3 separate regions of the Homo sapiens genome follow, and regions 1 and 2 are each linked to region 3. Evidence: promoter capture Hi-C in human tissues and cell types (Jung and others, 2019). All regions are on one chromosome and are shown on one strand. Each heading gives the region's core, a stretch centred on a gene start or on the middle of the fragment in contact. The rest is flanking DNA. Distances are from core to core; before and after follow the strand shown. Region 1 holds the start of CELF5 (CUGBP Elav-like family member 5). Region 2 holds the start of NCLN (nicalin). Region 3 holds the start of ZNF57 (zinc finger protein 57).

Evidence for each region. Contacts are between HindIII fragments. The study calls those that stand out against the background at their distance.
Region 1: a contact is called between the fragment with the promoter of CELF5 here and the fragment with the promoter of ZNF57 in region 3, in 1 of the 25 tissues and cell types used here (dorsolateral prefrontal cortex).
Region 2: the fragment with the promoter of NCLN here is called in contact with the fragment with the promoter of ZNF57 in region 3 in 1 of the 25 tissues and cell types used here (dorsolateral prefrontal cortex).

Annotation. Positions count from the first base shown.
Region 1 is chr19:3,223,392-3,226,091 of GRCh38, reverse strand. It overlaps CELF5 (CUGBP Elav-like family member 5), which reads right to left and starts at 1,431. Exons shown (of 13, transcript NM_021938.4): 1 at 1,094-1,431. The coding sequence starts at 1,352. RefSeq lists a silencer at 1,491-1,610. The HindIII fragment of the contact is 19,492 bases long and covers 1-2,700 here.
Region 2 is chr19:3,184,534-3,187,233 of GRCh38, reverse strand. It overlaps NCLN (nicalin), which reads right to left and starts at 1,304. Exons shown (of 15, transcript NM_020170.4): 1 at 1,020-1,304. The coding sequence starts at 1,203. RefSeq lists a silencer at 818-1,387 and enhancers at 1,898-2,037, 1,344-2,226. The HindIII fragment of the contact is 11,170 bases long and covers 1-2,700 here.
Region 3 is chr19:2,899,646-2,902,345 of GRCh38, reverse strand. It overlaps ZNF57 (zinc finger protein 57), which reads right to left and starts at 1,418. Exons shown (of 4, transcript NM_173480.3): 1 at 1,298-1,418. The coding sequence starts at 1,300. RefSeq lists enhancers at 1,221-1,370, 1,230-1,801 and a silencer at 1,981-2,030. The HindIII fragment of the contact is 10,438 bases long and covers 1-2,700 here.

The sequences.
Region 1 (2,700 bases), core at 182-2,681, 320 kb before region 3:
CCCAGTCCCCAACACCTGACCGGAAGGCTGTCAAAGCCACCCCAATTCAGACGCTGGGCCCATGATGGGAACCAAGGGCTGGGGATACAATTGCCGGACACCCCCACCCGGGATGCCATCGGAGGGAGAATCCAGTGGGAGGGAGGCAGACAGGCCTGAGGCCGCCCACGCCTCCCTCCTCCTCCCTGTCCACCCCAGAATTTGGGCTCTGCCCAGATGGACACGTCCAAGCTCATTGTCTTGGGCCTGAGACCCCAACACATTGCTAAGAGGCTCGGCCAGTTTCAACTTGAGCCCAAGGTGGAGGCGGGGGAGGGGGAGGGCAGAGAAATGGAGGAGAGAATGCTGATCCACGCGGAGGTGGTGGGGCCAGGGGGTGGGCAGCGACGGGAGCCTCTCCGCCACCCGAGGCAGGCGAGGCGGGCGCGTCCCCCCGAGCCGGGCGCCCCCAACCCGTCTTCCTTTGTAGTTACCGATTAGCCTGGGGTCCTGGGCATCCGTGTCCCCCGCGGCCGGACCTGCCCCGCCGGCCTGGCTTTGTGAAAATAACCAAAGCAATGGAGTCCGCAGGTGCAAACTTCCCCGACGGGGCCTGGGGAGGCTGAATGAATGGGGGTGGGGGGGCAGGGAGGGGTGCCGGCGTTCCCGAGGCTCCCCTGGCAAACGGGCAGGAAAGAGTGGGGTGAGGGAGGGAGGAAGGGGTGGGGGTCTGGGGGATGGAAGGGTGAGGGAGGGAGGGAGGGAGAGAGAGGGTGCTGTGGGGGGAAGGATGAGAGGTCGAGGGAGATGGGAGAGAAGAGAAAGGGAGAGAGAGAGGGAGAGAGAGAGGGAGAGAGAGAGGAGATGCCGGAAGGTGGGGAGGGAGGGAGAGGGGGCGGAGGAGGGGAGGGGGCCCGCTCGGATCTGTCAGCTGCACCCCCAGAGAGGGGAGGAGGGGTGGGTGGGAGGGAGGGGGTAAGAACCGATGCTCCGGCAGAGGCAGGCAGAGGAGGGAGGTGAGCAGAGGAGGGATGGTGATGGGGGAGAGAAGATGCCGGAAGGTGGGGTGGGAGGCGGAGGGAGGGGGAGAGGGGGGAGGGGGCCGGGCGCCCACCTTTGTGCATCCCCGTGTAGGGGTCTTTGAGCACCGTGAGCTCGTAGATGCGGCCGAACTGCTCGAAGAGCGGCTTGAGGTCCTTCTCGTCCAGGTGCCGCGGGATCTGGCCCACGAAGAGTTTGATGGCGTCCAGGTCCTTCATGCCGTCGGGCTGCCCCCCGGGGGGCTCGGGCCCGCTGCTGCCCACGGGCGAGGGCCGCGGCTGCAGGAGCTGCTGCTGCTGCCGGCGCGCCTCGCTCTCCGTCAGGCGGGCCATGGCGGGCGCGGGACCGAGCCGGCGGCGGCGGCGGCGGGCGGCGGGCGGACTCGCAGCTGGAGCGGCGGCCGCGCCTCCCGCCTCCCTCCCGGGCCCCCGCGCCCTCCTCCCGCCCGCGCCCGCCCCGGCATCGGGACCACAAAGGCGGCTCCGCAGCGGCCCCTGGCGGCCGCGCCGCGCGGGGCAGCCGGCGCCTCCCCGCATCCCCGGGCCGCGGGGGGAAACTGAGGCCGGAAGGCCCCGGGCCCCGCCTACGGGTGGGCGAGGGCGGAGCTGCGGGCGGGACGGGCCTTAGCCGGCTTCCCAGGGGTCCCCGCCGGCTCCCGCGGAGGGCATCGGCCGGAAGAATGTCAAAAGTTGCTGGGATAATGTAGGGGGCTTGTCGTTGAAAGCGCCCGTGATCCTTAAAGTAGGTAACTCATCAATAATATTAATAACACTAATAATATGGCTGGGCGCGGTGGCTCACGCCTGTCATCTCAGCACTTTGGGAGGCCGAGGTGGGTGGATCACTTGAGGTCAGGAGTTCGAGACCAGACTGGCTAACACGGTGAAACCCCGTCTCTACTAAAGAATACAAAAATTAGCTGGGCTCGGTGGCGGGGGGTGCCTGTAATCCCAGCTACTCGGGAGGCTGAGGCAGGATAATCACTTGAACCCAGGAGGCGGAGGTTGCAGTGAGCCAAGATTGTGCCATTGTACTCCAGCCTGGGCAACAAGAGCAAAACTCCGTCTTGGTAAAAAAAAAAAAAAAAAACACCTAATAATAACAACACTAATAATAATTAATCAAGAGCAAGACAAAGTGCTCCCACTAATCACGACAGCACAGGAGAAATGGTAAAAGTATCTTCCAGTTCTATAGGGTGCTTACACATAGAAAGTGTCCTTGGCCCTTTAAGTATGTAACTCATCAATAATGTCATCAACAAGGAGGGAGACTGGCTCGCACTGATAATGACAGGATAGGAGAAATACTGAAGTATCTCCCAGCTCTAAAGTGCCCGTGATCCTTTACGTATGAAACTCATCAATAATATTAATAAAAATAATAATACGTGCTGGCCGTGGTGGCTCACACCTGTAATCCCAGCACTTTGAGAAGCAGAGTCAGGAGGACCACTTGAGCCCAGGAGTTGGAGACCAGCCTGAGCAACATAGTGAGACGCCATTGCTGTAAAAAATAAGAAAACAGGCCAGGCACGATGGCTCACACCTGTAATCCCAGCACTTTGGGAGGCTGAGGCAGGTGGATCACCTGAGATCAGGAGTTCGAGACCAGCCTGATCAACATGGAGAAAACTCTGTCTCTACTAAAAACACAAAAATTAGCCAGGCATGGTTGTGC
Region 2 (2,700 bases), core at 55-2,554, 290 kb before region 3:
TGGGGTCAGGGCCACGACGGGAGGGGGCGAGGCTGTTGAGTGGGAGACTTGCAGAATGCAAGGGCAAGGGGGTGCGAATTTGGAAAGGGAAGAGGAAATCCTGGAAAGATGGAACAAGTGGGGTTCTGGGAAGTGGGTGTGAGGAGGCTGAGCTGAGGGCGTGGGTATGCATCAAAGGCGGGACAGAAAGGGGGTCAAAGGGAACCCCAGGCGAGTGGACTGAACTGGGGACGTGGGAGGAGACCAGGGAAGCTGGGCTAGCAGATTCTGAAACATGACTCACGAACTGGGACCAGAGAGCGTCAGGGGTCTGGGGACAAATGTGCCCTTGACGTGGGGGCCGGTGACTAGAGCGAGAAAATTCAGGGGAGTTGAATTTGGGCACTGGACAAAATGCACTTGGCACCCAGGGCCGTGGGAGGGGGTGGGGAATGCTGGACCACCGCGTCGGGTGGCTCAGCCTGGCAGAAATCAGTGCAGGGACCTTTAACTCCAAACGCAGTCAGCTAAAGGCGAGAGGCCTGGGAACACGGACGTGACCCAGTGAATCCAGAGACCAACCAGATGGTCTCCAGAACAGGACCCTGGGAGCTGGAGGTCAGGACGGGAGCGTCTGCTCAAGTGAGCCCGGACCAGGAAGCCTAAGGGGCGGAGGGGGCCCAGGAGGGAGAAACTCGGCAAGGCAGGCAGACGCCGGCCCAGCTGGGGACAGGAGAGAGGGGACTTAGGGCTCCAGGGACGCGGGACGCTTGGCCCGGCCATGGGTTCCGGGGCAGGGAGACCTAGGCAGGGGCCGGGGGCTGTGGGAGCGAGCGCGGGGGGTCCCTGGGCGCTAGGCAAGGAGAGCAGGGATTCCAGGGCGCCCGGGGGTCCAGGGCGGCAGGGCTCTGCCTCGCCTGGGGCCTGAGCATGGGTCGGGCAGCCCAGGCCGGAGCTAGGGATCGGCCTGGGGATCGCCGGGCCGGAGTGGCGTGGCCGGGGAGCCCGGGGAGCCCCGAGGGTGGGCCGGGGACACGCACCGTAGGGCTGGCCCTGCAGGTCGTACTGCTGCATGCGGTACACGGTGAACTCGTGCGCGGCGTCGGCGGCAGGCAGCGGCGGCGCCACCAGCAGCAGCACAGCGGGCAGGAAGACGATGAAGCCGAGCGGCAGACAAGACGCCTTCAGCATGTTCTCCAGCACCTCGCCCGCTTCCTCCAGCATCCTGGCCGGCGGCGGGGCCGCGCGGGGCGGCAGCTGGGACGGGACGGCGGCGGCGGCGGCTCCCGCGGACTCACCTCGGCATGGGTAGCCGCCGGGGTCCTGCGGGCGCCGCGCGGGGCAGCCCGCACTCGCCCTGAGGTCCTGTGGGCACCGCGGCGAACCGCCCCGCCAGCCGCGCTGCCTGTCGGGAATTGTAGTCCGTCCGTCCGGCGCTCGCGGAGCCCTGTGGGAGTTGTAGGCCCACTCTGGAACTCCCGGAAGGTGCGGCAGGCTGTTCGGCTAATACCGTTGAGGTTTCACATAAACTCCAAGTCATAAAATGCAATAAAATGCTTTAAAAAACTATTTCGCGATATCACTTTCTTAACCTTGTCTTTGGCGTTGGGGGAGCTAGGGTGAGGGGCGAAAGGTGGGGACAGGACGTGACCTTGCGACCTGGAAGGAAGTTGGGGATAAAGAGAAAAGGAAGTGCCTGCCTGGCGCGCTAGGTCTTCTGGGAGTTGTAGTCCCGTCAAACACACAAAGGGTCACGGGAACTGTAGTCGTCCTGGCAGAAATTGCTGAGAAAAACAAAAATCACTTAAAACTCCCGAGGATGTAGATGTCAAACTCCACGAAGGCAAAAACTTTTGTCTGTTTTGTGCATATGATGTATCCCCGGCATCTAGCACAAGACCTGGCGCACGGCGGGTGGCCTATACCATTTTTGAATGAATGAATGAAAAATAGAAAGTCATGATAGTCAGTTCCTAAGGGAGGCCGCAGTGGGTTGTGGGACTTGTAGTCTGGAACCTGCGGTTTGTGCAGGGGTCGGTGGCAGGTATTTATATTTATCTTTATTCATATTTGGGGCATACTTATACTAAAAAAGTATTTGTTGTTCATCAGAAATTTAAAGTTAAAACCCAGTGTCTCAGGGCTGGAGGTACCTAAGGAACGTCCCTTTGTACAGATGGGGAGACTGAGCCCCAGGGTGCAGCAGACAGTAGCCCTGGCTCTCAGCACGTTATCATCCCAGGCTCCGTACAGCTGCCTAAGGAGTCAGGGCTTCCTTTCTGTCCCAAGTGAGAAGTGGCATTGGTGCCGATTAAGAGCCTGGGCTCAAATCCCAACTCCTCCATTTCCCAGCTGTGTGGCTTTGGGCAAGTCGCTTCACCTCTCAGAGTCTCAGTTTCCTCAGATATAATGATAAAGAATCAAGCACTCTCCCTGCCAGCAGCATGTGAGAATTCTGTTTGTTTGTTTGTTTGTTTGTTTGTTTTTGAGATGTAGTCTCTGTCACCTAGGCTGGAGTGCAGTGGCTTGATCTCAGCTCACCGCAACCTCCACCTCCTGGGTTCAAGCAATTCCTGTGTCTCAGCCTCCTGAGTAGCTGTAAATTACAGGCGTGAGCTACCGCGCCCGGCTAGAAAGGGAGTTTCTGAGTGTGCTGCTGGGTCACTGAGCACCTACTGTGTGCCAGCCGTGTGGTGGGTGCTGGGGACACAGCCGGGACCC
Region 3 (2,700 bases), core at 169-2,668:
GAAAAAAGCCAAACAGGAGAACAGTACAGTACATTTACTGACACCGGCTGCCCGAATAAAGCTTTCACAGCATTAGTGATACCCTGCAACAAAACCCCCAGGGCAGCTAACTCCCACCGCTGAGGTCGTCCCCCAAACTGCCTCTGACCCCCAGGCCGTCCCTTGCCATCCCCCCAAGCTGTCCCCTGTAAGGTTCTCTGAGCTGGCCGCACCATGGTCAAGCCCCCCGCCCTTGTGATAATGTACTTTGTGATATTCCCCCGCCCTTGTGAATGTACTTTGTACGATACGTCCTCCTCGCCCTTGTGAATGTACCCCGCCCTTGTGACAATACACGCTCGCGCCCTTGTGAAGGTACTTTGTAATATTCCTCCCAGCCCTTGTGACAATACATCCCCCAAGCCCTTGTGAATGTACTTTGAAACATCGTCGCCGCCCTTGAGAATGTACTTTGTAACACCCACCAACTGTCCTCAAAAAAACTGCTCCTAACTCCGATGCCTGTCCCAAACCTATAAGGACTAATGATTGCCGGGCGCGGTGGCTCACGCCTGTAATCCCAGCACTTTGGGAGGCCGAGGCGGGCGGATCACAAGGTCAAGAGATCGAGACCATTCTGGCCAACATGGTGAAACCCTGTCTCTACTAAAAACAAAAATTAGCCGGGCGTGAGGGCGGGCGCCTGTAATCTCAGCTACTCCGGAGGCTGAGGCAGGAGAATCGCTTGAACCCGGGAGGCGGAAGTTGCAGTGAGCCGAGATCACGCCACTGCACTCCAGCCTGGCGACAGAGCGGGACTCCGTCCCAAAAATAAAAAAAATAAAAAAATAAAACCAATAATAATCCCATCACCCTTTGCTGAGTCCTTTCTCAGACTCAGCCCACTTGCACCCAAGTGAGTAAACAGCCTTGTGGCTCACACTAAGCCTGCTCAGGTGACCTCTTATACGGACACGCGTAACATCCCCAACCTGCTGACCGTCCCTTGCCGTCCCCCCAAACTGGTCCCTGACCCCTGACCGCCCCTACCGTCCCCCCAAACTACCTCCAGCCCCCCTCCTGCCCAGGCCTCCCCCTAAGTTACCCCCAAGCTCCTTGCCGCCCCTTCCGTCCCCCCAAACTGCCCCCAGTCCTCCAGCCCGGCCGCTGTGATGGCGTCCCCGGGTCCCAGGTGCTAGTCCTGCGCCGCCCCGCGCGTCCCTCAGCCAATCCCGGCCGCAGACTTCGGCGGACTCTGGTTCCAGCCGGTTCCCGTCGCTCCGACCGTCCCCTGGCTCTGCTCCTGCCTCGCACTCACCATGTCTCCCCTGCTCCTGGGCTCTCCAAGGCGAGCTCTCCGTGGCCTCGCGGCCGGCGCAGCTGAAAGGTACAGGTACTCCCGGGCCGCTCGTGGTAGGCAGGGCACGCGCGGCAGGGAGGACGAAACGTCCCGCCCTCGGGGCCTCGGAGCTCAGGAAGCGGCGCCCTGATTGGACAATCTCTAAGCCCCCGCCCTTTCAACGCTCTGAGCGGACAGCGTTTTGGACACGCCCCCTTCACCCCTGGGGCCTTCGATTGGACACTACTGCAAACCTGCAATCCGCTTCCCGGTGTCCGCCCCGTGCCTTGATTGGACAGTTTTCCGGACCCGCCCCCGGAGCACCTGATTGGAAGATAACTTCCGCGCCGCCCCGCCTCCTGTCGCCCGAGTGACCGGCGCGTAGCCAACGCTAGTGGCTGACCCGCCAGCGGTGGACACTCCCGTTTGCGCGAACTCGCTCTGGCCCGGGGTGAGCCCAACCTCTCCCCGCAGCTCGGCCGCGCCTCCCGCGTCCTTCTCCCGAACGGGCACGAGAAGTCCAGACTCAGTTTCCCCACGGAGCAGCCGGAGTGCTGCGTGGAGGGGAGGGGCGAGCGAGCGGCGTGGGTCGCGTGGGGTGAGCCCTTCGTGGGGCGGGGTCCTCAGCCGTGACGTCACCGCGCTGCCCCGCGTGGGCGCGGACCCCATGGAGGCCCTGCCCCGTGCTGGAGCACGTGCTGTCAGTGTCCTGATTTTTTTTTTTTTTTTTTTTTTTTTTTTTGAGGTGGAGTCTCGCTCTGTCGCCCAGGCTGGAGTGCAGTGGCGCCATCTCGGCTCACTGCAAGCTCCGCCTCCCGGGTTCAGGCCATTCTCCTACCTCAGCCTCCCGAGTAGCTGGGACACAGGCACCCGCCACCACGCCGGCTAATTTTTTTGTATTTTTAGTAGAGACGAGGTTTCACCGTGTTAGCCAGGATGGTCTCGATCTCCTGACCTCGTGATCGGCCCGCCTCGGCCTCCCAAAGTGCTGGGATTACAGGCGTGAGCCACCGCGCACGGCCAGTGTCCTGATTTTTTTACCCAAACGTTTCCCAGCCTCCTGTCCTTCCCACAGGCCCCTGCACTTTGGCTCGCCCCCGACATCTGAGCCTGCACTAAAATAAGGACCAAACCTCGAGTCACCTGATCCCGAAAATGGGCGGACCCCAGGGAGCCCCTATCCTGTCTGGCCTCGCTGGATTTGTTTTTTTGTTGGACATTGTTTTTTGTTTTATTTATTTTTTTATTTTGAGACGGAGTCTCACACTGTCGCCCCGGCTGGAGTGCAGTGGCGTGATCTCGGCTCACTGCAACCTCCGCCTTCAGGGTTAAAGCGATTCTCCTGCCTCAGCCTCCCGAGTAGCTGAGATTACAGGCGCCTG